5 separate regions of the Homo sapiens genome follow, and regions 2, 3, 4 and 5 are each linked to region 1. Evidence: promoter capture Hi-C in 16 types of primary human blood cells and fetal thymus (Javierre and others, 2016). All regions are on one chromosome and are shown on one strand. Each heading gives the region's core, a stretch centred on a gene start or on the middle of the fragment in contact. The rest is flanking DNA. Distances are from core to core; before and after follow the strand shown. Region 1 holds the start of OR52W1 (olfactory receptor family 52 subfamily W member 1). Region 2 holds the start of LOC107984303 (a long non-coding RNA gene). Region 3 has its middle 30 kb from the start of OR56A1. Region 4 overlaps LOC107984303 (a long non-coding RNA gene). Region 5 overlaps OR56A4 (olfactory receptor family 56 subfamily A member 4).

Region 1 (5,719 bases), core at 805-3,304:
GCATGATTATAGCTCACTGTAGCCTTGAACTCCTGGGATCAAGTGATCCTCCTGCCTCGGCCTCTCGAGTAGGTAGAAGTACCAGTGCACACCACTGTGGCTGGCTAATTTTTTTAATTTTTTTGTAGAGATGGGCTCTCACTGTGTTGCACGGACTGGTCTCCAACTCCTGGGCTCAAGTGATCTTCCTGTCTTGGCCTCCCAAAGTGCTGGGATTACAGGTGTGAGACACTGTGCCCAGCCCATCTTTTTTTCAAATGTGTCACTGATGAAGTTTTTGAGTGTTGTGCCCCTAACTTCATTTTTCCAATAGGCCCTGTGGTCTTTATTGTATGACTTTACATAGTGTGGTGAGTTTAAGTCTCCTTATAATAGAAAGAACTGTATTCAGTAGACTTGTGGTTGATGGTGAATAATTCTTTTTCTTCATGGATATCTAAAGCTCCTGAAACTGTAGGAGCCCCTATTAGTCAGCAAAAGCTGTTTGGACTAGCAGTCTGTCCCACACTTAAAAGCAATATATATTTATTCATAGCTAACTACATGCCAGACATTGTGGTAAGCAGTAGAGACACTGTAGCTAATAAAAAGCAATATCTGCAACTCTTTTTGTCTCGTGGGGAATTGAGAGACAAGAAATTACAACAGAGTGGGCTAGATGCTATTAAAGAATAAACCAAGGAATTTTCTCCCGGACTTCAGTGAGCCAGCAAAGACCTCCCTGAGAAAGTGTTCCTTGCCCAGATCTTTCCACCTGATAGTCTCTTTCCTGGCTTGCCCCCATCTCTGCCTCCTTACTCTACTTCCTGAGTCACCAGCCCATCAGCACTGAGCAAAGAGATACAAAACAGAGTTAATGTGGCACAGGTGGGAGGGAGAAAGGCCCTGAGGGAAGCAGGTAGAACAGCCACATAAAGAGCCCCACAGGCACTGATTAAAGCGAAGAGAAGCTGCCAACACACAGTGCTCGAGATCTTTCCCAGTCAAGCCTTCTGCTGGTGATTTCTTCCTCATTCATTTATCCATTCAACATGTATTAAGCTTCTTAGGTGGGCTGGATCCCACCTAAGTCAATCTACTTGTCCTGCCTCCTCCAATGTCAGAGATGCTTCTTCCTCAGATGGCTGCTACTCTGAGTTGAGTGCCATTTTCTCCCTCTATGTCACCTCCACTCGCTCTGGCATGCCAGGAATGAGACTCTAGTGGGACCCACTTTTGTACCGTGAAGAAGGAAAGGAAACGGAGAAGAAAAGTCCCGTTTCGTACTGCCATCTCTCTCTCTGTTGCTTCCCAGCCCCAACTTCAACTCTCCAGCTGGTGTTCAGCATCAAGTTCAGAACGTAAGCACCCTGCACCCCAAAAACCCAGCAAGTTTTCCCTTGCCACACCAAGCTCCCAGATTCACTCCAGATTCCATCTGCCTCCCACTACGGTTTCTCCCTTTCTTTATACTCTGCCTCCTCTCTTCCTGGATGGTTGGTGCTGAGAATGGGCAATTGCTCAGAGCTGGGCAAACCTTAATATCACTGTACCCACCAGGCCTATACAGCTGAAGAAGCTGAGGTCCAGAGATCTTGCCCAAGGATACACAGGCAGGGACAGGACAGCCGGAAGCCTGATTCCCCACCCTGCCCCCAGCACTGGCTTTCTCCTCATATAGAGACTGAGACTGACTCTATTTGGACCCTGAGGAAGAAAAGTATTCATCTCCACTCCACCCTCTGCTGACATCCAATTAGAAGGCTCTCTCAGGCTATCTATACCAACCACTGCAGCAGGCAGCCTCTTCCTCACTACCCCTTCCTCCCACTACAATACATATAGACTTTTAGGAGCAAAGGATTCTCCTATCTTAGCTAGAATTGCGACCTTAATTATCCATCCAAACCCCCCTAACCAAAAGTTATAAACCTGTGATCCTCCCAGCCCTGCACTACTCCTACACGTATGCCATGGATGGGTTTGTGCCACTGTGAGACCCCCAAAATCTCTCCCCTTATCTTCCCTGTCAGGAGTCATGCCCCCATGAGCCCTCAAGTTGTGCCCACCACAGAATGGCAGAAACTCTACAACTCAATTCCACCTTCCTACACCCAAACTTCTTCATACTGACTGGCTTTCCAGGGCTAGGAAGTGCCCAGACTTGGCTGACACTGGTCTTTGGGCCCATTTATCTGCTGGCCCTGCTGGGCAATGGAGCACTGCCGGCAGTGGTGTGGATAGACTCCACACTGCACCAGCCCATGTTTCTACTGTTGGCCATCCTGGCAGCCACAGACCTGGGCTTAGCCACATCTATAGCCCCAGGGTTGCTGGCTGTGCTGTGGCTTGGGCCCCGATCTGTGCCATATGCTGTGTGCCTGGTCCAGATGTTCTTTGTACATGCACTGACTGCCATGGAATCAGGTGTGCTTTTGGCCATGGCCTGTGATCGTGCTGCGGCAATAGGGCGTCCACTGCACTACCCTGTCCTGGTCACCAAAGCCTGTGTGGGTTATGCAGCCTTGGCCCTGGCACTGAAAGCTGTGGCTATTGTTGTACCTTTCCCACTGCTGGTGGCAAAGTTTGAGCACTTCCAAGCCAAGACCATAGGCCATACCTATTGTGCACACATGGCAGTGGTAGAACTGGTGGTGGGTAACACACAGGCCACCAACTTATATGGTCTGGCACTTTCACTGGCCATCTCAGGTATGGATATTCTGGGTATCACTGGCTCCTATGGACTCATTGCCCATGCTGTGCTGCAGCTACCTACCCGGGAGGCCCATGCCAAGGCCTTTGGTACATGTAGTTCTCACATCTGTGTCATTCTGGCCTTCTACATACCTGGTCTCTTCTCCTACCTCACACACCGCTTTGGTCATCACACTGTCCCAAAGCCTGTGCACATCCTTCTCTCCAACATCTACTTGCTGCTGCCACCTGCCCTCAACCCCCTCATCTATGGGGCCCGCACCAAGCAGATCAGAGACCGACTCCTGGAAACCTTCACATTCAGAAAAAGCCCGTTGTAATGTCCAGTGGTAACAATGGAGCCTAAGAGTGGAGGTGAGGGGACAATCGGAGGGGAGTCTGGGGGTGTGGATCATGTTATTTTCATCCCACTGCATATGACTGTTATCATCATTTAACAGGTACTTGCTGTGGAGTCCCTATGTGCAACACTGGCATCTGTAGACTTTGACTTAAACATGTATTCTGCTTGGGAGGAGGCAGGAGGTAGAGGTCAGGGGGCTACACTACCATGCAGGAAAAATTAGTGAAGGACCATAATAAACAAGATCTAACAACTCCCTTTCCTGCTCCCCACCTCCATTATTTCAACCTAAGTCTGCCCACGTTTCCACACAAAAGCTCCTCTATAGATCCCAAACTTGAGGGAAGTGCTTGGCACTGCCGCAGAGGGTGGCGCTGTCCCTGGAGTCAAGTGCTTGGGCACCCGTCTGAAATCACAGCCCTCTCTACTCCTGGAGCCAGATTCTGTTTTCAGACTGCCCTCAGGAAACGAGTTCTACAGGCTCATCTCCTGCCTTCCGATAAACTAAATAATGTGCCCTGTGGTACCAATTTGGCCACTTCAAATTCAAAGAATCCTCTTTTGGTCTCATGTGTAATTACTATTCTTCCTTCCCCCAACTCCCACCAAAGCCCCCAAAATTAACAGCTGTAACTTCTTCCCCTGTGACTGCAGCTGCAGAGGTCAGGGGTCCACTGAAAGAAATGTTGATATCCCAGAAAATCACTGCAGCCACATCATCTGATTGCCTGAGGCTGAATTACTATGGTTTCTTGTCAATCTGCCCTTCTGTGCACCCTCAACAAGAAGGTATAATCCCCAGATAAAATCCCCATAGGCACCCCCATTTGTCTTGGCCAACATCATTAGAAGCACATGATGTTAGTGCAATATGATGAAATGAAACATTTCACACTTCTGTAACTGTCAGGGCAGCAAGAACAGGAAGTGCGGTGGTGTTGCCCAACAGGGGATTCATTTTCAGCTAAGACACCACACTGGAAGGGACATTACATAACAAAGGTCTTTAATACTATCACGGAGCTTACAATAAGTATAATCTGACAGAAGGCAGGGAGTCACCGTTATGAGATCAGAAAAAGCTGCAGACTGCAAAGGCAAACCCAAGCTCTCCAGGAAAACGATCATAACCACAGGTATTAGAGTTAGCCATGAAAACCTGAAGCCAGGAGCAACCCAGTCCACTCAGCACAGATAGCTGGACCAAGATGGACCACGGAACACCACACAGAAGAGGAGACTGCAGATCAGAAAAAGCAGATGATGCCATCTCCGGTGCCACACTGGGTCTTAGCAGGTCATCAATAACAAGGACTAAAGAGCCCAGAAGCTCTGTATCATTTTCACAGGCATCATCACACTGCATGCAAGTAGATACAGAGGAAATCTACAGTCAACCTAAGTGTGTGCTCATTCATTCTCAAGACTAATTTTTTTCATGAAGTTCTGGGTTTAACTGGCCTCCAAGCAATGATTTTGCAGATAACTGTGACACAATTCTAATCCTAATGAGTCACAAGTCTTGAAGATGTTCGTATCATTCTCTTACTCTAAATTCCCCTTTATTGCAGTGAGCTGTGATCACACCACTGCACTCCAGCCTGGTGACAGTGAGACCTTGTCTCAAAAATATATAAGTTCCCCCTTAATAAATCTATCCTAAGAAAATAATTGAGATGTGAACAAGCATATATGCAGTAAAATATTTATTGATTATAAATAAATATATGTATGATAATCCTGCGTCTCACATACATACAGGTATACCATTTTTTGCCTTTCCCCTCTGATACATGAAAGGGAAATCATCTGCAGCCAACGTTCATAAACAATGAATTCTGTCACCCTCCCACCACAGGAAGACTCTCTTCTAAGGCACCTTCAACCCCTGGTTGTGCACAACTTTTCAAGGTAGCTGGTTCCAGAGCTGTACGTTGTCCATTGTAGCAACTTTCTTCCTTCAAGCTAAAAATCCACTCCCTTGGACATTTGTATCTTGTTCCAAATTGAGATTGCATACATACCTACCATATGATGTGTTTCAAGAGCTTTACCACACTCTCATTCCTCATGACAACCTGAGAATTAATTATAAGCCCACAATCCCTCATCCATAATTCCAAAATAAAACTCTGAAGAAACAATATTTTTTTATAACTTTGGCCCAAAAGCTGACATCTCAACCATCATGATCCTATTTATAATCTTTATTTATCTTATTTAGTGTAAATGTTCATACATCTAACTTCAGAAATGTTGATGTTTGATTATAGGGCACTGTCCTGAATCCCACTGGGGTATTCCTTAATATATGATATATATATATCATATTCCTTTTCTATAATCTGAAAAAAACTGAATTCCAAAATATCTGTCCCTAAAAGTTTCAAATAAGGTGTGAGGGGTCTGTGTGATTATCCTTGAAGTCTGAGAGACATGAAGAGACTTGTTAGGGCTCTTTATCACTCTAAAGTCTTTGCTGTCAATACTATTCTATACTGCCCTACAGGTTCATACTGAGAACCTCGTGTTCTCTGGATAAAAAGATCCATCTGTTTATTCCCCCCATGCTCTCCATTCAGACCACCCTCAGATACCCTGCAGATGGTCTGTCTCTCATGCCATACCAGAGGCAAATCCTATAAGCAGGATATGGCCCAAAGAGCGCAGCCCTTAGGC
Region 2 (5,377 bases), core at 1,897-4,396, 180 kb before region 1:
GAGAATTATGGGTGCAGGAAAGACCCACCCCCATAATTAAATTGCCTCCCAATTGTCTTTCCAATTTAAAAAGACAATATGTCAGGCAACAGCATAACTAAGATACTAAACCTGACTTCTAAACTTAAAATTCAAGTTCTCATTAAGCCAAAAGTGAATGTCAGAAGGCTTTTTCTCAAAAGCATTTAGGCACAGTATTCAATTCGTCAGTCACTCTGTGAATTCAAGTAAAAATGAGACCTTGATCCCTCTCTTGGCTCTATCCACAGGCAAACCAGCATTTACTTTTCCAGGGATAAGCATAGGTTTAAGGAAAGTCTCTCAACCTCTTTCTTAAATAGGACACAGTCTTAATTCTATTATAAGCATCCTGGTAAATGTAAGAGCTCTAGTGACTTTTTCAGAAAATGTATCAAGGTTTATTTTTTCCAAGAGTATTGACTCAGGTATCTCTCCTCCCCCACCACATACTAACAACGGCATCTCTTGACAGACCACAAGAATTCTGCATAAACTCAAAAGCTAAGCAGAAAATACATTGTTTCCAATCAAATACCAGGATCTTAACATAATCATAGCAGAATGTCAAGGCAGATTTCAAGTATATGTTTGAACAGTCCTAAACTAGGAACTGAATTTCTTTGGCTATTCAGGCTCTTTTTTGGTTTCATATGAATTTTAAAATAGTTTTTTCTAGTTCTGTAAAGAATGTCATTGGTAGTTTGACTGGAATAGCATTGAATCTGTAAATTGCTTTTGGGCAGTGTAGTGATTTTAATGGTACTGATTCTTCCTATCCATGAGCACGGGATGTCTGTCCATTAGTTTGTATCTCCTCTGATTTCTTTGAGCAGTGTTTGGTAATTCTCACTGTAGAGATCTTTCACCTCCCTGAGTAGCTGTATTCCTTGGTATTTTATTTTTTGTGTGGCAGCTGTGAATGGGATTGCCTTTCTAATTTGAATCTCAGTTTGGCTGTTGTTGTTATGTAGGAATGCTAGTGATTTTTGTACATTAATTTTGTATCCTGCAACTTTACTAACGTTTATCAGCTGGAGGAGGTTTTGGGCCTAGACTGTGGGGTTTTCTATATATAGAATCATGTCATCTGCAAACAGAGACAGTTTGACTTCATGTCTTCTTATTTGGATGGCCTTTATTTCTTTCTCTTGCCTGATTGCTCTGGCTAGGACTTCTAATACTATGTTGAACAGAAGTGGTGAGAGAAGGCATCTTTGCCTTGTGCCAGTTTTATAGGGGAATGCTTCCATCTTTTGCCCATTTTGGAGGTCAAAAGTTAAGAGAAAATTTTAGAATTTCTTTGAGTAAAGAAGACTCACAGAAATCCAGCCTGAGAAAAAGTTAGATGATGTGTATAGCAGTCCTTCTCAAGTCTGACAGCCTTAAAATAAACATCATTAAGTAGAAAAAGAGTGGCATGGAGAAAGGGAGAAGACAATATAGAAAAGAAAAGTAATGGAAATTATGCCTAAGAAAATCCTTTGAGTGTGATCACTAGCACATTGAACTGACCTGATACAGATAGATCAAAAACCTATTAGGCCTTCGAGGGGGTTTATTGCCAAAGAAACATGAACTTGACTTTTGAAGAAAGTTTTTGCTTTAGAATTTAAAAAATGTATTGATCCTACACAAATTACAATTAGAAAGGAGAAACAAGTACTAGTGTTTTACAGAACTAAAGGATGATAATAGTCAACAATATATTGTATATTTTCAAATAGCTAGAAGAAAGAATATTGAATATACCCAACACAAAGTAATGATAAATGTTTGAGATGATGGATATGCTAATTACCCTGATCTGCTCACTACACGTTGTATGTAACTTCATAAATATGTATAATTATTATGTATCAATTTTAAAATGAATAATTAAATAAAAAATTATTTAAAGTACTGATACTAATATTTTATAAGTAGAAAGTAGGTTCAAATGCAGTGTCACTCCAAAAGAAGTCACATTGTTCGATGCCTGCTTCATTTAGGATAATGGGAACATTAATAAAGGCACATTTAGGATAATGGGAACATTAATAAAGGCACAAACCCCCAAAGGCAGATGGCATTAAAAAAACAATAAAAAGCAATGATCAGGACATTGAAAACAATGATCAGGAGAGTTCCTCCTAGAGAACGCAAACAATGTCTAGTCAAGAAACTTGTCCCCCTCTCAGTAAGTAAAAATATTGCAATATCTGCTCCTAAAGCATTCTCGCATTACTATTAAGTTACTGCTAACTGAATTCTACACTTCATTTCCAGTTGGAAATCATCTGCTCCGCCATTAATAGAGAGACAGAATATCACTGGTGAAAGAGAAATCACAATGGGATCTGATGGAGAAGGCCACACACATCTGTAGGTCTTGGATTTTTTGCTGCATAGAGTAATCAGATGAGAGCTTGGGTGGTCTCCCTTGATAAGGAGGTAAGCCTATTGTCTATGTAGGAAAAAGAGAAATGAAAATTTATGATCAAGGCTCTTTTGCAAGCAGCTGGATCTATGTGAGGAGTCTGGCCGATGAAATGATAGAGAAAGTGATGTGTCTCCTAGTTTGGGGCCCTAAAGCTTACAAAATCCTGCATATTCTTTCTCTTTCTGGCTTGCCACCCAGATTCAGAAGCACCAGTGAAGGTCTCTAAGAGCCCAGAACATGGAGGATCCACATAATAAAAAAAGCATGGGTCCCTAAATGTTGATGTGGAGCAAAGCCCTCATGCATTGGAATGAGGTGTGGGTGAGAAGTAAATTTTATTGTGTTAGGCCACTGTGCTATCATTGTTACAGTAGCTAACTTTAATTGCATTGACTAATTCAATGCGTGTGGGTTTTTAGTGTACTCTGCCTTTGATATCTATAATCTGGAGTATGAAAAACTTAGGAAACTACAAAGCTATCCAGTGAAAGATTAAAAATATACCTCAATCCCTAGACTCTGAAGAAGCAAAAATGGGTTTATGTAGCAAAATGCCTTACTTCTCAATTTTAACTCTGGTCCCTATTGATTAAATGACTATGTATAATTTATCATTTTGCTCAGTTGCCTCATCTGCAAAAATGGGAATTATAATTCATGGGCTATTTTGACCATAATCTCTCTAAAACTTAGTTTTCCTGTATGTTCAGAGTGCTAATCACACGTAAAGAACTCAATAACTAATTTTTGGTTGAATAGGTGCAGAAATGTTGTTATTATATACAGTACTCAGCCAAATGCTGATAGTGTAATATGTTATGAAACACTAAGGATATTCACTATTCTTATGAATACCTGACTCATGTCAGTGATTTGGTATTGACTTTTAAATGTTGCTGAAGAAAAGAAAATCATGGTATAAATTGGTATGTCTCTTTTATTTGTTAAATTAATCACTCAAGTCCCTATGTGCCCTATGAGCAGGAAGTACAGGAGTTTTCTAAACGGACTTGTCACGTTCTCTTTCAAACACCTGAGACTGAGAACTGGCATTCAATACAGTACCGTTATTCCCACAAATAGCCACAAAGGGGCAATGTTGACTTGCCAACTATGAAGAGTTTGCTTAACTTCAGACGTTGCTGTTTAAGTTCTACAGTTGCAGTCTTGATGCTATAAACTTTCTCTGATGTCTCAGAACTCTCACTGCCTAGAATATACACCAAAGCATAATAAAGTATCAGGATGGCTAGGCACTAAAAAGCTTTCTGTGATAAATGGAAAGTGTAGTATTGTTCCCTCAACAATACTTAGGTGTTTGTTTTGAGCTTTGGCTACCAACATAGGGTCCCTTCTTTTTCCACCTTAATTCCAGAGGACTTGCTATTCTTTCTTTCCACTGGCCTTGATTTAAGTCAGCTATGGTATTGAATAGCAATGTGCAATGATATCAGATCTTCCTGCTCAAGAGGCTGTGTTCCTCACACAAATATGACTAACCTGCAAACCAGGGAGTGAGGGGAGTGACCTTTGGAAAGCTACTCCTGTCTCTCTTCTCATGTTCTGAATGCACCCTCTTCCAATGCAGTTGGAACATATTCAGGTTGTATCAGCAAAGCAAATCTTCATAGACTTCCTCAGTTTTGAAAAACTGACAAAACATTGGTACCCCATCCATTTAAAATGCCTTTAATTTATACTACTTCATTATATCCACTCAAGACAGTGCTTGAAAACCTTTACAGAGAGGACATGTTTTAACATTTTGCTATGGGAACTTCACAGCAGAGTTGGGTCTGCCCTTCATGGTCTGATTCTTTGGTTATCTTGCTCCTTTATCATCTGTATGAGGATTTACTTCAAAGCCTATCTAGGACCCTTGAGACCAGTTATTTTACCACTTGCAGTGAGCTTGACAATTTTGTGAGAAATCTGTGGTCCTCTAAACCTCTATACTTAGAACCAGAGCAGAGAGCCAACTTTTCAAGTATGTGGTTTATCCATTTGTTACGTTTAGGACTCTACTACTGGGGAACTAGAGATTAAAGATAGACATGATTTTTCAACTCTTCTTTTAGCCAATTCAATATCATAAGTAAGGAAATGTTTACTGAGCCCCTCAATATGTGAGAGCTGTGCTAGTTACTGTGAGGGGTGATCACTGTTGTCCCACTGCTGTCTTGGTCCCTCCATCCTTTACAAATCCCTACAACAAAGTTGGTAGTTTCTATCCCTATGTACACCCAGTTTGAGTCAAGCATCTCATAATTGTGTTGGCCATTTGCATTGATCTACAGAAGTCTGGTTCGGGAATTAAGATCTGAGTTTTGGCCAAATAACATAGACTCCTCTTTGAGTTCATTCTGGGCTTGCTTCCGGGTGAAATCATGGCAGATGCAGGGAAAGCACTCCTGGAAAGACGAATGGAGTTGACCAAATGCTTGAAAATATCACCTGATTACAGATGTATTATATTCCTATGAATTATATCCTATTAGATTCCTTTTTAAAAACTCACTTTTATGATCACGTATAGAAGGCTCTTATGAAAATTAAATATTATTATTCATAGACATTGGTATATTGCAAGTGCTCAAAACACATGAACTTGGATTTTCATTATAAGTATTATTTTAGAAAATCAGTGGTGAAGTTGGCCTTTATATCATCTAAGGGACAATAGGAAAACAGTGAGAGATAAAACTCTCTTAGCAACTGTGAAATGGAGAGAAGTTCTATTAGAGAATTCTGTGCTTAAAATATGACAAATACTGAGTTGAACCTGTGGCTCTGGCTTGAGACAATGAGAGCCAAGCCTGAAGGTACTAAGAGCCCCTTCCTGTAAGCCAATGGGTATAATTTTTCTTTCCTACTGTTGTTGAGTGACTGGAAGAAACTCTCCTCCTAGAGCCCACACCAGCATTGGGTTACAGTTAC
Region 3 (5,711 bases), core at 392-2,891, 140 kb before region 1:
GAGAGCCACATGTGCTAAACGCCTTAAGTCGGGCCTCATTTCCTGGTACCTTCAGCACTGCCTGGAGAATGTGGGCATAGGAAACACCAATGGCCAGGACATCCAGCCCAACCACAAGCAAGGCCACAGTCAGCCCATAAGCTCGATTGACTGTGGTTTCTGAGCAGGCAAGTTTCACAACAGCCATATGTTCACAATAGGCATGGCCTATGATGGTGGCTTGGCAGAAGATAAGTTTTCGCAACAGAATGAGGAAGGGGATGAGGAGTAGTAATCCCCGCACCAGCACCACCATTCCGATGTGCCCTATGACCCCTGGATGCAGGATCGTGGAATGGTGCAAGGGGTGACAAATGGCTACATAGCGATCCAGAGCCATGGCCACAAGTACCCCTGACTCCATGGAGGAGAATGCATGGGTGAAGAACATCTGGATCAGGCAGACAGTGTAACCAATCTCTTGGGCACGAACCAGGAGCACTGCAAGGGCTTTGGGTGCAGTGGAGGAGGCCACAACCAGGTCGATGGCAGCTAGCATGGACAGGAAGAGGTACATAGGTTGGTGCAAGGATGGGTCCATCCAGATGATGAAGAGAATGGTAACATTGCCCACTAGAGCAAGGAGGTAAAGGATGCCCAGGGGCAGTGCGATCCAGTGCTGGCTTTCCTCTAAACCCGGAATTCCTACCAGGAAAAAAGAAGGCTGGGGTAGCCTCCAGCTGGAATTGCTAAGCGCCATTATCAATGACTTGAGGAGGAAAGAGAAAAAAGAATCCAAATTCATGATTTCTGCATTTCTGGTACATTATCACATAGTCCAGATCACATTGTCTACCATCTTCATGAGAAGAATAAAGTGACTAAAACTGCAACCAAAGGGAATAAAGTTAGATACAAGAAAGAAAATCTTTGGTGGAGATAAATTTTTTTACAGGTGAGACATCCACATGTCTGAATTAGAATAGGTCTAGTTTTTTTAGAGATAAGAGTAAACATACACTGTTTTGGGAGAGATGCATAAGCTTTAACCATTCAGTTGCTTATGTTTTGAAGCTGCCAACTTCAAAGGGTTCTCTTTATTAGCCTCTTGGCGTTACTGAACACAGTAAATTAAACTGTTGTTTTTGAAATTAGCCTCCCTCAGTTTCCGTGAAGTGGCACTCTAGAGTTGTTTCTCCTATAGCCTCAGTCCCACCATTTTCTCCATCTCATTATGTTGTTGATTCCAGGGATCCATCCTCTCCTCTTTTCCCTATTCAGTACATTATCTCTGAATTGACCTCATCCACTTTCATAGTTTTATCTATCTACTTTTATTTCTTTCAAATCTGTGTTTCTAAGTCAAATATCTTTCTGAAACACAAATCATTCTTTCCATTTGCTTCCTGAATAGCTATACTATAGCCTCAACATATTCAAAACTAAATTAATTCATCTATCCTTCTTAAATCTGTCCTACCTACCTTTGGCAATATTTTTATGAATTACATTACTATCCATCTACCAAACCCAATCTAGAAACTCGGAAACTATCTTTACTTATTCTTATCTCTCATCCCTTTTCCCCATTCGCCAATTCCTGTTAACTGCATTTTTAACACATAGCTGTTATATCCACTCCTGTTTTCAACCCCCGATGTCAAACATCCAACTTCTCTCACCTGTACTGTTTCATTACATCTCTCTGCCTTTGCTGTAAACATCTTCCCAATTCACTCTCAACCTTAAAGTCAGGTTTTTCCTAAAATGCAGATGTCGTTATGTCGTGCCTATGGCTAAAATCCTTCAGTGAATCTATTGCATGGAATAAAATCATACTCTTAAGACTGCATTAAAGGTTTTCAAGGGTTATCTATTGTGTATTACTTTGGTCTTACAGTTAACATATTTCTACATGTATGTTTTACTAAACCATTCCAACATTCTTGGAGTTATATGACTAAACTCTCCTATTTTACATATGCCTTTTGTGTAGTCTTTCTTCCACTTCCTTTATCTGAATTGGTCTTCCTCACTCTTGAAAATTTAGAGTCTACTCTCTTCTGCTGCTCAAAAGGACTCATTGGCTGTGTTAGGTCAAGAGTGATTATGTCACGAGCACTGTATGTTATGATCCTTCTTTGTTCATCCATAACTTTCTTGCTTATCTCCATCATAGAAATCCTGTCAGCATCTTAATGGCTTGTTTTAAAGAACTGTATCTCATTACATGTCATGATTATAAGCTAGCATGGATGCTTCACAATGCAGTGTGATAAATACAAGCTTTGCGGGCAAAGTTTGTTAAAATTCTGTCCATTTCATATTCTAGGAATAAAATCTTGCTAGGCTTCTAAAACTCTCTAAGTCTTAATTTCCTTATTTCATATTAGAATAAATAATATTAATCTTAAATACTAAAAATTTTAACTAATGTATGTAAAGTCTTGATATATAGGTTACCTTATAAAGTATAGTCTATAAATTATAGTTCTTTTTTAATGTTACTAATAAAAGATGGCTATGAGCTCTTAGTCATCTTTTATTAAGTTGGTACAAAAGTAATTGTGATTTTTGCCGTTGAAAGTAATGGCAAATATTAATAGCAATATTATTAATGTTTAAAAAGATAACTATAATTACCTTTCCTTTCTTCTTTGTCTTCATGACTCTGCTTCTCTGATTCAAACTTTTGATATGTTTACCTGTCATCATGATGTTATAGCAATTCAGTGTCTCTGACACCCCACGTTAACATGAACTATTGAATAAACAGCTGTCTGTTTAACCTTCTCCATGGGATTCACCCCTCAAGTATTAAAATAAGAAACTTGCAACTGGTTACATTTGTGTCTGTATGTTTATCTTAAAAGACAGATGTAGTCTGAAACAACTATATTTTTCTTTGTTGGGGTGGTGGTTCGTGTACATGTACATGTGAAGATTTTTAAAAGTCAAGAATGACTCAGTTCTTGTGGATTATGCATCTATAGATCACTCAGTGTGTCTTTTTTACAAATCAATAATGTTTGGGAACTATCATATTGCCCCCAAACTCTCAATATAACAACTATAAGTTCTGAAATTCTAGGTGGGCATATGTCTCCCAGCCTTTGTCTTTCTTCAAGAGTCAACTTAAAATAATGATGACATTTTTATTGAGACTTCCAGGGGAATCTTATACTCTTGCAAAAAAAAAAAAAAAAATCACCTTTCAGTGCTTAATATTCCACATACTGAGGAAGTTAATTCTCTTTCTTAGCTACTCCCCTTCTGTTACAACCATCAGCTCATTTCTCATTTTATAGCTGAGAAGTTGAAGAACAGGTATGTGTTTGTGGAAGGCACCCGTGGCTTTAATAGAAACAGTGTGCATAAAGCAGTGAGACTGAAACCGTACTACAGAAGGTGAAGCAGAGGGGCAGAGACACGAACCTGAATATAATCTGCTTCTTTTTTATGCTGCATGGCTTGTGAGACTAGAGCAAAAGCCTACATCTGCTTATTAAGCACTAATTATTAAAGTAAATAGGAGATCCCTCTGTGATTCTTAGAAGAAAAGCAGAAGGGACTTTATTCCCAAGAACCTAAAAGTGAAGCTCTATTTAGTTCTCCAACCAGAAAGCAGGGGACAATTAGCGAAGAGCTGATGCTGTTGAACTACTACTTATTCATCTACATTCAATCTAAGCAACCTATCTTCTGTGAAGTTGTGCTTGAATTCTGTAAGACAGCATAATGTGTCTCCTTTTCTTTCCCTTTGTGATGTCTTTACCACTTTGTCATTGCATTGATGACCTTGCACTTTAAAAAGCAGGGACTATGCCTTGCTTATTGCAGCAGCCCCAGGGCAAGCTCCAGAAGCACCTAGAATCCAGTCGGTAATCAGTAATGTTGGTTGAATAAATATCCATATGATTAGATTAAATAATAAATAAATAAGTGTATGAGTGTCTTAAAAGGCTGAAGATTATGAAAATTTGATAAGGCAGAGACTGAATTTAAGTAAAGGAATAAAGTAGCAGACACTGGGTTGCCGTCTGAGGGGATTACTGATTGAGTGTTGACAGTCCTCACCTTAAGTGATGCTCTGGGTGCTTCATGGCAGAAAGATCCCTGCTGATTCATCACTATCTCGCATGCAAAGAAGTGATAAAGAAATCCTAGATGTGTCAGAAATAAGGGGATTCCTGTGGTCACTGGTAGTCACTTCTGCTCCTAGCAGGCAGGGAGGCCTCTATGGGATGTGACTTGTCTCTCTCTCTCTTTAATCTCTTTCTCAGCAGTGATCTGGACTCTATGATAGTCGGGAGGAAAGGAGACAAGAACCTAGGCAGAAAAAGAGCAGTGGAGGACACAGAAATAGTGGGTCCATGATAATGACCTAATAAGAGAGGAAGATACAGAAATCAAGCACTAAGAGGCAGAGCTTCACTGCACAAATCGGAGACACATAGATAATCAATAAAGTAAGCCTGGCAAAGGGCACTGTCCTACTGGTCTCTGGATTGTCTTTGAGGATGTGCCCTTTAAAGTCTTGGGTCAACCTGGAGGGAGACTCAGCAGCACAAAGAAAACTAGGAAAGGGAGAAAATTCCCAGATTCAGGAAGGTTCTGTTATAGCCCTCCCTGCTCATCTCCAGGAACACCCTGAGTCCTCTGTTCAACCTCCACAATGGTCTTCTGCCTTAGCTTATGTGTAACAATGATAAAGAGGACTTTCTCTTCAGAAGGGCTGCACAGCAGTCTCTGAATGCCAAAGAGGACATCAAATGCATCCCTCGAGGTCTGTACAGCTAAAGTTTCCCAAAGATATGAAACATGAGTACTAGCTTTGGCAACACATGGGTAAACTGTATCTACATGCATGATATTTGATGGTGAGGATGCCACCTAGGACCATGCTAAATGGTCCTGTGAATGCCTCAGGCTGATCATGAAGGCTTAAAGAGATTGGTAGGCACCTGTAGGCACACAAGTTAACTTGCAGCAATGAGCCGTCCCCTAATCTCTCTCCATCTGTATTCTTTCTTATCTTTCTTTTTTTCCCACTGTCATAGAGTCCAGGCCACTGTTAAGAAGGAGATTAAGGATAGAGAAATAGGTCACATTTCACAGAAGAGCCTCCCTTCCCACTAGCATCTAAATGGTAGAAACTAGGAGAGGCTTCATTTTGAGAAGTCAGGCCCGGAGAGAGCAACTACTTTAACTCAGGGGGAAATAAAGACTACGAAGAAGTGTCAGACCAGACGTATTGGGAAACTCAGAGTCACACTAGCCAAGCCAAAAAATAACCTCTGTCACAGGGAAAATGAGAAGGGCAGGAGTCAGCTGGCTGTAGTCTTCCCCCACCATGAGCCCCAAAACTGACCTCATTTTTCACACCTGAATTTCTGTGCACCAGGGGTCGCTGGTTCTGTCATCGTCACCCTGAAAGGAAGGTCATTCTTGATACCTTACCAAGGCAGTGATGGTGACTGTGAGCAAGGCACTGGGCAGGCAGGATGTTATTACCAACTGGCAGGTCCCAGAGCTCTCACAGACACACCTGGGCAAAGCCAAAAGTAGCCCCTAGATTGACTAGAGGAACACAGAGCTAAAGTTACAGCCCACAGGGATGGGTGATTGGACAGAGAGGCCAAGCAGGGAGAGTGACTCCTGCACCTAACCAGGTGGCCCATATCTGTTCAGCGTTGTTCATTACCCCTAAGCCTGTACATCCTGTTGGTGAT
Region 4 (6,039 bases), core at 2,447-4,946, 160 kb before region 1:
GTATTCGGTGTAATTGTCACCTGCTGCTTCGGTGGAACTCCCTGTCCCTTTCTGTTGGGCAGAAGGAATGGGCCCATCCGTAATAGATACGGAGAGGAAAACAAAGTGATGACAACTCAGTGGGCAAGCAGGGCAAGAGCTGTTTCTGCAGAGAGCTTAGTAGCACAGCCCTATTCACTTTTGCTGGGATGTATGCGTCTGGGACATAATGGGGCTGTGCAGAGATAGCACTGGAACAGACTGATAACCAAAACTGAAATTTCAAAAGGGAGGCTACAATCGAGCCAATAAAAAGTGAAAGGGCTGCTTTATAATTCCCAGTTCTCCCATTCTTATTTTTTTCTGTTTTCCACAGGTTCCAAGCTGAAGAGTTTTAAATGTGTCCATGAATTCATTCAGTTCTTGCATTTGTTTACTTATAAATACTGATGCATTGTTTACTTATAAATACTGATGCATTTCTCTCATCAATCCAATACTCATCCTTTGAACTACCACTCTGAACAATACAGCACAATCAATAATAATTTTTAATTTTTTCTCTGATTACAAAATAATATGTCAATATCCTAAAATGCAAATTATATAATATTGTATATCATTTAATATCCAACAAAATCCCACCAATCTTCACTTAAATACTTTAAACATTATTTTAAAATAATGGAGACTGACGATAAGACTCCAGTCTCCTCCACAGCTGGCTGTGTGAATTACTCATTTCCTATTGCCATTGGCATTCCCCCGTCTTGATAAATCTGCTCTGTCTAGGCAGCGGGCAATGTGAACCCACTGGGTGGTTACAAATTTGGGGGCTTGTCTGGGATAGTCCTTGTGACTACCTGCCCATGGTTCCATAGTCTCCCCTCTGGCAACAGATCTAGAGGCCAGCCCAAGCAGAGGCCAGCCCAAGCAGCCGCCTAGTTCTCCTGGACTAGAGGCTGACTCTGGTACCATCTCTGCCAGCAGGGCACTGCTGACCCAATGTGTATGGATTTAAATGCAGTGGAAAAATAGTCCTGGGGAGATTTCCCATAACTGTAGCCCTATCACAGGTTGTCTGACTGTAGCCCCATGGTGGGGTGTCTGTAGCCCCATTGCAGTGTGTCTGGGTTGGTGAGTATCCTAGGTGCTGCCAGTGCCTCCTTCCTTCTCCTGGTTCTGTAGCGCCATGGTGGCGTATCTGTCTGTAGCCCCATGGTGGGGTGTCTGTTTGTAGCTCCGCTACTGGGTGTCTGTCTCGGTTTGGCTCTTTCAGGGGTCTCGTTTTGTCTGTAGCCCCATTGCTGGATGTCTGTCTCAATTCAGAACCTGGGGGGTTTCGGTTGGCTCTCCCTAACTAGTAAAGTCTTGGTTTGGGAGACTTCTCCTTATTCAGGAAGGTTTTGGGGAGATTTCTTAAACAGAGAATAGCAGGATAGTTTGGAAGGGATACGCTTGGAGTTCTTGGTTAGGGATCTGATTTGGAAGGCCTTCTGTCCGTCTTGTCTTTGTATATGTGTATATATGTGGAGGGGACCTCAGAAGGACTTGCTGATGGAAGTTCAGCAGGCCTAACTCAGAAAACCCTCCTTATTGGTCTGGTCACATTTGTTGAGCCCTAAAGGAAGCTCAACAGGCCTGTCTCAGGGTGACTATTTGCTCTGTGCCTTGCCCAGAGACCACCCATTGTGAGTTACCATTCAGAGGTCATCCCTTCTCACTTGGAGTGGATCAAAGACAACAGGGACCAAAAGGAGAAAGTTTGAGCTTTGCCAGGCTGATATTGGGTGCTGAATGAGGTGGCTAGTATCTGTTTTGTTATGTGTATTTTGCTGGAATTGAAAATGTTAATTCATTTCCCCACGTAGCCCATTGGGCAACATCTTGCAAAATTGAGAATATTTTCTCCATGGCTTCATCAAACAGAATTTTCTTTTGTAAAGTGGCTTGACCCTCACAGCTATGGCACAGATAGCAGGGTCATCAAAAGCTGCTCCATTCTTCTGGAAGCTACAGAGAAAGGGAACCTGGAAACCTGGTATGCTGGCAAAAAGGGTAAGAAATTCTTACCAGCCAAGTTTCTCGTCTCATTCTCTCTCTCTCTCTCTCCCTCTGTGTGTGTGTGTGTGTGTCTCTCTCTCTATCTCTCTCTGACTCTCTCTCTCTATTCTCTCTCTCTGACTCTGTGTGTGTGTGTGTGTGTATAAATGGTAAACGTCACTATTTGTCTTCTCTGCAAGAGTTTGATTGATAGAAAAAAGGATTTGTGAGACTAGTCTTAGGCTGTAGCAAATCTGATGCACGTTGTGCTAAGAATTTTTCTTTCTGTAATGGAGACAGGGGTATCACAGGATAGAATGTGGGTTTGAGATCCGTATAACCCTGCTTTCAAGCCAGGCCAGCAGGCTAATCAGCTACAAACTTTGTTGCGTGTCCCTGAAACCAATACCAAATGAAATTTCGTCTTGTTTTGTGTCCTTAAGAGCTTAACCCTGGGACTGTGTGGGGATATTTTCTCTTGGTCTCCACCATCTAGAGGACAGAAACTTGGGGGTTCACATTATAGTTAGCCCTAAAAATTATCTTGAGCAGTTAAAAGCCTTTTCATGCTTGAAATTGGCTGCTCTAGGCTTCTGGAAAGAGCAATAGAAACTGCTCAATGCTGTGTAGCTCAGTAGCTGACGCTTTATCTTTTGACAATTGTGGCAAGGGTTCAATTCTTGGCTTCCGGAAGCATTCCTTCCTGGTTTGTTATTTGTGTAACTTTGCCATTTATTGAGGGTTTTTTCGCCCATGGATAGCCTCTGATTTCCTGTCTTGAATTTTCCTTTCCCTGAACTACCCTTGGGGAGATTCTAAATCTTGTAAAAATAGAAACTACTTACCGTCTCTTTGAGATATCTTATGCATCCATAGTTAAGTTAACCTTAGTTAAAACTTATTAATTAATTTCATGTGGGAAATTACCTATGGCAGAATTCAAAAGCCAGAAATATTGGCTGTTCTAGCTAGAGTCTGGTAATAAAAGATTTAAAAGAATTTCTTTTTAGAAAAAAATAGCTCTATGGCTAAAATCAGCTTAATTAAAAACAGATATCCAAGTTAAATGTATTTAAGAGAGCTTTATCTTTTTCCTCTTCTGGAATCATGTTCTTCTGAAAGTTTTTTTCTTTTCAGTAGACTGAATTGTTTTTCTCCATTTTGTCTTCTTCCCACTCTTGATGCCCACATGAGAGAACCTAAGATAAATTCTAACAGCCTGGGACTCCTGGGGAAAAGCAGAGGAGGCACCACAGAAAAACCTAGGAAAAACCTCTGTTTTCGTCACAGAAGCCCAAGAATGGAAAGAGAATAGATCCCTCTCAAAATCTAAGACACTGTTCTGTTTTGCATTGTATTACCTGACAGTTTTGACTTTTGGGGGTATCAAAAATTACTTTGTGTTATGGGAGAGCTTTTAGCCTTGGTGTGTAATAACTAGGTAGGAAATATACTTTAAGGGATGGCTAATGGCAGTTATGGAGAGATACTTGGCTCTTTACATGCCTGGATCAGAGAAGCTTGCCCTTGGCCACCTGGAAGATATGGAAACATACCCACCTCCTACTGAGAGGTGAGACTCTCAGGGGAATGGGCTGATTACACAATGGACTGATTGGCTTTGGGTTGCCTTGCAATGAAATGCATGGTGAAAACACTGCACAGTTTGAATTGTCATTATCCAGTTTTAGAGACAAGGTTACTCTAGCTTCATAAAATAAGTTGGTAAAAATTTTCCATCTTTTTCTATTATCTTGAAGAATGCATGCATGATAGAGATGATCTATTTCTTAAAATTTTAGAACTCACCTATAAACCCATAGTGTACTGAAGCTTTTGTTGGGAAAAGGTCTTTAATTAATATTTCAAATTTTTAATGGTTATTTATATATTTGAGTTTTATTATCTGAAGCTACTGGTGATTTTTAAATTTTTAGTTTTTCAAATTCATTGGCATAAAAGTTATTCAGAACATTATGCAGAATTTTGTTGTTTTCTTATATGTTTGACTCTGTTAGTTGTCTTTTCAACACCCATTTCCGTCTCACTATCATCCCCTCTCCATTTCTTCCTTGATAGAAGATATCTAATTTATTTCAGATATTTAGCCCTTCATGAAGTTCCCTCACATGCATATGCTAATCAGTACATTGCTGAACACTCAAGGGGGAATTTCTATAAATCTTTAGGATTCTCTTTCTATGGAGTTTTCTCTTCCTCAATACTCTGCCTTGTGAACTCTAGCTTCTTTGGACTCCCTTCCCCTTCTCCTCGACACAGAAAGATTGCCAGGCTGCAGCTGAGTTTGCCCTCTCTTTGACGTAGCATGGAATCTCTCCCTAACGAATTGAAACAATCACTTTCCAGTAAACAAGACTCACCTTTTTTGTTTCCTATCTCTTGGGGATCACTGTCCTCCATTGCCTGATGTCCAGTGCCTTCAGAAACATTATTTCACATATTTTGTTCAGTCTTTTAGTTATTTCAAGTGACAGGGTAATCTAGCTCCTGTTACTTCATATTGACCAGCTAAAGTCCCTCTTGAGTATATAAAATCATGCTATACCAGCATATCAAAGCACAATTTAACTCTTATCTCCTCACTGGGTTCATGGTTGGATTTGCGGCTGCATGAGCCTCATCCTTCTCCACAGTCAAGAGAGATCAGGCCAGGCACGGTGGCTCATGCCTGTAATCCCAGCACTTCAGAAGGCCGAGGTGGGTGGACCACCTGAGGTTGGGAGTTCTAGACCAGCCTGGTCAACATGGTGAGACCCCGTCTCTACTAAAAATACAAAAATTAGCCGGGCATGGTGGCGTATGCCTGTAATCTTAGCTACTCAGGATGCTGAGTCAGGAGAATCTCTTGAACCTGGGAGGCAGAGGTTGTGGTGGGCTGAGATCCAGCCATTGCATTCCAGCCTGGGCAACAAGAGCGAAACTCTGTCTAAAAAAATAAAATAAAATAGAGTTCTATTTCACAGCTGAAGCTTTCATATCTTAGAAGGACTATGCATCACAGTGAAAGAAAATATACGTCTGTAGGAACCTGAGGTCAGAATGATTTGGGGACTCCAAAATGTATCTAAAACATTTGATAAAAATAAATTTTAGCATAGGAAAAGGGCAGCAGCATCCAGAAATGGGAAATCAAGTGAAATGCAACTAATGCAGGACCTTCAGGATTAAGAATGGCATTTGAATGTTTTTAAGTAAAACGTCTACCCAAACTTTCTTTCTTGTGTGTGCAATCAGATGTGTGACCAGAATTAACGAGACTGTCTTAGGGAAGACCATGTAACTATAAACCTTTTCTCAGGAAGCTAAGCAAGCACAACCTCCAAGTCAAAATTCCATAGAGTGAAAGCAAGGGCCAGCAAGGGCAACTGTCTTCTCACTGGGCTCATGGTTGGATTTCTGGCTGCATAAGCCTCATCCATCTCCACAGTTAGCAGAGATCTCTTCCCAGCTAAAGCTTTAGTTCATCTAATATTTGCAATTTTACATTCAAAAGATATTTCACAGAACAAAGAAGATCATATTTGATGGAAACAAGAGATTAAATTATAGTGGCCCTTACTTTCACCCTATGGAATTTTGCAAATAAGAATTATCTCTGACTTCGTTTGGTTCTGGAGAGCCCAATCTCTGTCTTAGCCCATAAAAAAGGGAAGCTTATATCAATATTTCTTGAATAACCAAAGAGTGAAGCTGACAAAACCCACAGAAGTGTCAGCATACAAACTTGAAAATGTAATCACCTTTCTCTTCCTCTCATCTACTCCACACATCCAATTGATAACCAAGCTCTGCTCATCTTTTAAATAAATTGCTTTAAAATACTTTATAACCACTTTTCCATTCCTTTCACAATTAAAGGAATCAAGCAACTCCCCTGCTTTCCACCATTCACCAAGATATTGTTATACTCTAATGCCAGATAGCATATATCTATTTATTCCATATTTGCAATTTGCAATTCAAAAGATATTTGATAGGACAAAAAAAATTATATTT
Region 5 (5,895 bases), core at 3,396-5,895, 200 kb before region 1:
TCTGGATGCCTCCCATTCCTGCCAGACCCCCGGCCATCCCTGCAGCCAGGCGCCCGGACCCCAAGCCACCTGGAAGCTGGTGGACCAGAACATGGAGATCCGGGAACCTGAGGCCCCGGCGCCTGCATAGACGCTGGCCGCACTGCTGACTGGCCGGGTGCCATAGCTGGGCGGCTGGACGCAGCCCAGGGACCGGTAGTTGGTGGAGAAGGTGGAGTGAGTGGTGAAACTCCTGCTGTGCAGGTAGGAGAGTGAGAGAACAGGACTCAGACTTAGCTGACGACCACTTTAACATGTAACCAATATTTTAAAGTGTGGAAGAGCTATTTTGTATTATTCATTCTTTTTGCACTAAATCTTCAAAATCAGATGTGCACTTTACACTTATAGCGTGTTGCAATTTGGACTGGCCACATCTCAAGGGTTCATATGGCTCTTAACTACTGTGTTGAACAGCAGAGGTCTAGAGTTATGGGAAACTAAACACACCTCCTTTTATTTTCCTTAGGATATAAATTTAATCTTGGTGATGGTCACATGGCACCATGACTCTTGAGTTGGACAGGATACAGGAACTTGTTTAGTTTGGTTCGATTTCTGGGTCAGCTCAAAATTACAGTTTTCATTGTCTTTTTCAATACTACCCATCAAGGTTCCTTTAAAGATTTCTTTTAGTATGTTTTTAATTGACAGATTAAATTTCATGTGTTTATTGTGTACAACATGTTTTAAAGTATATATACAATGTGGAATAGTTAAATCTAGCTAATTAGCATATACACTACCTCACATAACTATCATTTTTGTGGTGAGAACACCACCAAACGTTCACTATCTTTTCATTTTTCAAGAATACAATATGTCATCATTAACTATAGTCACCACGCTGTGCAATAGATCTCTTGAACAGCCTCCTCTAATCTAACTGTAATTATTTATCTTTTGACCAACATCTCTCAATCCCTCCCTCCCACCTACCAGACTCTGGTAACCACCATTCTACTCTCAAAGACTTTATAGAAAACTTTTTCATATTCTTCATTTGAGTGAGATCATGTGGTATTTGTCTTTTTGTCTTAATATTTCACTTAATATAGTGTCCTCCAGGCTCATCCATACTATAGCACATGACAGGATTTTGTTTCCCTATTAAATCAGTATGTCAAAGGGATGTCTATACTCCCATGTTTATTGCGGCACTATTTGCAATAGCAACATATGGAGTCAACCTAATGTTATCAACAGATGAATGGGGAAAGAAAATTTGGTACATGTAATATATACACATATATGTATGTGTGTATATATATGTGTGTGTATATATTACATGTACCAAATATTTTGTGGCTGAATAGTATAGCAACAAAAATCCTTCAGAGATTTCTTAGTAGACTGGTCTTTCAGATTTCATAATGGGAAGACCTCATTAAGAACAGAGATAATCAACACATCCAAAGTTCCCAGCTTAGCTCCTCACAGAATCTCTACCAGGCATTAGGACTTTCCAGTAACCTGTAGCCCAGCCTCTTTGTCTTAGGGTAGATATTACTCTTCCTCTACTCCTACCTTAAACCAGTGAAGTTTTTTTTTTTTTTTAGAACCAATGTGGCTATTCAGTAAAGAACTCCAAAATTTCTAGATTCCTCCAAATGTGGTAATAAGAGCACCGTTCTTTCACATAAGATGTATTTGGAAACTACAACTAGATGTTGTTAACAAAGGATGACGAAAGGTAGAATTGGAATTAGAAACAACTACAGCTTCAGATATACATCCAAATAGTCAGACTATACAAACTTATTTGTGGCCAGATTCCAAAGAAATAAGTCTATTTCTCTAGAGACATTGGCTTTGTTTCCAGTTGGTTATTATATTCTTTTTGCTGGGGCAATGAACAAAAGATAAAAATTAACCCCATGCCCAGTCTGAAATTTTCTGAGGAGTATAGTCGCTTGAGCAATGGAAAAGGTTTTCTGTCCCAGACAGAGAAGCAGGAAAGAGCACTGAGAGCAAGGCAGGATGAGATGGGAAGCCCAGGAGGGAGAAATCAAGGTAGCTGAGATTAATGGCCCTATCTTTTCTGATGCTTCCATGGCAATCTTCTCTAGGAGGGGTGAATTATAGTTGATAACATAAACTCACTGAGTCTCCTGGTCTACAGCTGTCATAGACAAGAATGAACGAATTCAAGAACCTTCACTCTGGAAATCTCAGTTCTGTTTAAATGGGTAGTGTACAGCTCACATTAAAAAACTTTGCCCCCATGGGAAAGCAGGGCTACAGCAGATTTTGGGATATTGGCAATATTGGCAGAATCTGAATCTTCAACCCCAGACTTGCTGCATTTCTACCAGAAGAATGAATGCTTCCTGCTTATATGGAACACCTGGGTCCCTACATGACTCTCATGCTCATTATTTTCCTAGTTCCAAAGCAGACCTAGCAGCTCAAGGATGCTGTACTGTAATTGCTATTTGTGACTGTTTAATGCACCATCAGACCTACCCCCTCTGAGGTTCCAGAAGCTATTTTCCTGTCCTAAGCTCCACTCTGCCACTTCCCTCCCCACAGCCCACCAGGGCTAAGGCTATTTTAGGCATCTGAACCTAGAGCATAGGCCTATTCTTCAGGGAGGCATGGGTAGAAAACACAGAAGATAAAATCCAATATTGGGATAGTGATTAACAGGAAGAAAATTGAGGAAACATCACGGAGACTTGAGGCATTACAAATAAAAATTAAAATCTTATATACTTGAAAAACAAATATTTCTAGACTTAGGAGAGAGAGAGCTTCATTTCAGACTTTAGGTATACTCTTAGGAAAATTATGTTTAAATGAGAATTACACAGTATCCATAAACCGGGGTCATTTTATTATAGCCAGTATACAAAAATGGGCTATAAAGCCTAACATATTACAGACATATCATTTCCCTATTACCTACATCACAATGGCTTCAAAATTGGAATGGGCAAGTGGAATATTTGTTATTAATGATAAGAGCATGAAAATCCAACTCACTCACTGGACAGGTATAAGATTTGTCCAAATGTGTGTGACAGTGAAGGAAAAATGCCTTGGAAAGCCTCTCGGTACCAGCAATAGGAGTGAGGAAACTGGAGAGGATGCTGAGACACAATCCTCTGTCTCACCTCACAAGTCTGGGCTCCAAGAATGAGATGGTGGGATGACAATTGTGTTGCAGACAATGGTGCATAACTGGGTGAGATTTTACCTATGTCACTTTGAACTTCTCTCTCTGTCTTCCAAAGGAAACCTTGGGTTGGGTATCAGCTCACCTCCTCTGGCCAAGCTATGACTGACCATAAATAATGCCTGAGGATAGAGATGGTTTCATTACACACTACCTGTTACCCTTCCAACCCTACCACCTCTTCCTAGAGAAAAGAAAAGATCCCAGGGAGACTCCTGCTAGAGTCTGATTTATGTATTGTCTGTGTGCCTGAATCAGAGGCCCTCACTTAGAAAGAGTCTAAATTAGGAAGGATAATAAAGCAAAAAAAGGGGAAATTATGATAGAAGGGAGAGCGGCAGACAAAAGTGATAACACCAAGGGAAGGGACTATCACTCTTTTCTATTGAAAATATTTCAGAAGCAGCGAGTAATAACCGACCAGTTTTTCTCAGGTGAAGTGCCAAGTGACACCTGATTTTGAGAGAAGTTGCAGAAGTTATTCTACCCCAAGAAGAAAAGTTGGACTAAAATAAGAACCCAATAGGACACTCTGGAGAAAATATGTAAGACAGCATTTATGGACTCTGTTTCATTTGCTATTTTATAGGTAAACTGAGAGTGAGGATTCTTAACACTGCTTTGAGCAGGGATTGCAAAGCAGTCAAGCCTCTGCACACTGTGTGGTCATGAATTACGAAGATAATTTACCAAGACAGCTGCTTGGACATGGTGAAAACAGTTTCCTATTTTATGATTATTGTGTCATGCTCTCTCAAACATACAAGATGGGATTGTTGGTACAATTTGGAGGGGCAAGTGGCATTGGAAGCCTGGTAGCCTTAAAGAATGTGAGCACTGGAGTGGTATTATAGCCACATATCTTCAATGGCTGTCCCTACGTGTTTCCGAAGGGATGCTTGTGGAGAGCCTCGTGGTGCACCCAGACTGAAATGGATATAAATAGGCTATGTTCAACTAAAGGTCTTATGGGGCACCCAATAGTTTGGAGTTCCTACATGATAACCCTCACATAAGCAAGAGAACTTCTCAAGAAAATAAACTAGTGACAAAAATAACTAGAGGGAAAGAGGAGGACTCAAATTCCATGGATACCTTAATGCCCCAAGGTAAATAAGGTGTGCAATAACGGTCAGCCTATTATTCAGAGGGCAGCAGGGGAAGCAGCAAGCTTGGGGAAATAATAATAATGATAAATCATTCAATGTGTATATAATTTAATGTGTATATACTTACTGTACAAAAACTTTTATTAATTCACTCTTTGAAAAAACAATAAAAAATAAATTAACACCATTTTCAAGGTAATTAAGCCAGAATTTATGAGTTTAACCAAAGTTCACAAAAGCGGAGTACACAAATTTAGCCAAATTATTTTATCTGAGAATAAAATTCCAGTTCTCCAGACTGTCTCAATCCTAATGGTCTTCACTATATAAAGGTTCATTTTGTGCTGGCTAAAAATATGGCTCTCTGTTAGGTACTATAAGGACATATAATAGTATAAGATTTTATTGTTGTTTCCAAGTAGTTATTAAAGAAAATGAGAGATGAGAGATCACTTATAAAATGTTCTACAGATTTTGTTCAACACATTTTTATTTTAAATTTATCTGTATGTATAAGAGACAGTAAAAGTAGCCATGCAGAATTTTAAAGATGAATAAAATACTCTCAACCTAAAAGAAGCTTATGACAGTGTCAGAGAAAGAAATACAGCCACACAAGATGCAAGAATAATGATTCCAGTCGGGAGGATCAGGGAAGGAAGACCTACTGTGGGAGATGGCATTTGAATTCAACCTGGTAGGAAGGAAACAACAGGTGCTGGAGAGGATGTGGAGAAATAGGAACACTTTTACACTGTTGGTGGCACTGTAAACTAGTTCAACCATTGTGGAAGTCAGTGTGGAGATTCCTCAGGGATCTAGAACTAGAAATACCATTTGACCCAGCCATCCCATTACTGGGTACATACCCAAAGGATTATAAATCATGCTGCTATAAAGACACATGCACATGTATGTTTATTGCGGCACCATTCACAATAGCAAAGACTTGGAACCAAGCCAAATGTCCAACAATGGTAGACTGGATTAAGAAAATGTGGCACATCTACACCATGGAATACTATGCAGCCATAAAAAATGATGAGTTCATGTCCTTGGTAGGGACATGGATGAAGCTGGAAACCATCATTCTCAGCAAACTATCGCAAGGACAAAAAACCAAACACCGCATTTTCTCACTCATAGGTGGGAGTTGAACAATGAGAACACATGGACACAGGAAGGGGAACATCACACACCGGGGACTGTTGTGGGTTAGGGGGAGTGGGGAGGGATAGCATTAGGAGATATACCTAATGTTAAATGACGAGTTAATGGGTGCAGCACGCCAACATGGCACATGTATACATATGTAACAAACCTGCACATTGTGCACATGTACTCTAAAACTTAAAACATAATAAAAAAATAAAAAATAAAAAAACCTGGTAGGAAAGATGGGGTTTGGCAAATGGTGATAATGGTAAAAGAAGGCTGATGTGAGAAGCATCAAATGATTGAAGAGAGAGAGCAAAATGGGAATAAGTAATTTTCAAGAAATAATGAGCAGCTCATTTTGGCTACAGTGGCAGAGAAAACAAAGTTTAAGATAAGTCGAAAGTATGTTAG

Evidence for each region. Contacts are between HindIII fragments. The CHiCAGO score rates a contact against its expected background, and 5 or more counts as called.
Region 2: a fragment that was not itself captured here is called in contact with the fragment with the promoter of OR52W1 in region 1 in 4 of 17 cell types (M1 macrophages, M2 macrophages, M0 macrophages and 1 more); the score reaches 12.0 in M1 macrophages.
Region 3: a contact is called between a fragment that was not itself captured here and the fragment with the promoter of OR52W1 in region 1, in 1 of 17 cell types (monocytes). The highest score is 5.8, in monocytes.
Region 4: a contact is called between a fragment that was not itself captured here and the fragment with the promoter of OR52W1 in region 1, in 3 of 17 cell types (M0 macrophages, M2 macrophages and M1 macrophages). The highest score is 5.7, in M0 macrophages.
Region 5: a fragment that was not itself captured here is called in contact with the fragment with the promoter of OR52W1 in region 1 in 1 of 17 cell types (M2 macrophages); the score reaches 5.1 in M2 macrophages.

Annotation. Positions count from the first base shown.
Region 1 is chr11:6,197,170-6,202,888 of GRCh38, forward strand. It overlaps OR52W1 (olfactory receptor family 52 subfamily W member 1), which reads left to right and starts at 2,055. Exons shown (of 1, transcript NM_001005178.1): 1 at 2,055-3,017. The coding sequence starts at 2,055. The coding sequence ends at 3,017. RefSeq lists enhancers at 1,869-2,369, 2,370-2,870 and a silencer at 4,436-4,636. The HindIII fragment of the contact is 17,873 bases long and covers 1,040-5,719 here.
Region 2 is chr11:6,019,638-6,025,014 of GRCh38, forward strand. It overlaps OR56A1 (olfactory receptor family 56 subfamily A member 1), which reads right to left. Exons shown (of 2, transcript NM_001388488.1): 2 at 1-5,377. LOC107984303 (a long non-coding RNA gene) reads left to right here and starts at 2,363. Exons shown (of 4, transcript XR_001748102.2): 1 at 2,363-2,451. It also overlaps a transcript of OR56A3 not described here. The HindIII fragment of the contact is 1,112 bases long and covers 2,591-3,702 here.
Region 3 is chr11:6,057,492-6,063,202 of GRCh38, forward strand. It overlaps the pseudogene OR52L2P. Among named protein-coding and RNA genes, the nearest start is that of OR56A1, 30 kb to the left of the region's middle. The HindIII fragment of the contact is 1,243 bases long and covers 1,021-2,263 here.
Region 4 is chr11:6,038,383-6,044,421 of GRCh38, forward strand. It overlaps LOC107984303 (a long non-coding RNA gene), which reads left to right. Exons shown (of 4, transcript XR_001748102.2): 4 at 1-8. Among named protein-coding and RNA genes, the nearest start is that of OR56A1, 11 kb to the left of the region's middle. The HindIII fragment of the contact is 313 bases long and covers 3,541-3,853 here.
Region 5 is chr11:5,994,926-6,000,820 of GRCh38, forward strand. It overlaps OR56A4 (olfactory receptor family 56 subfamily A member 4), which reads right to left. Exons shown (of 3, transcript NM_001005179.4): 3 at 4,520-5,895. It also overlaps a transcript of OR56A3 not described here and the pseudogene KRT18P58. Among named protein-coding and RNA genes, the nearest start is that of OR56A4, 9.1 kb to the right of the region's middle. The HindIII fragment of the contact is 518 bases long and covers 4,387-4,904 here.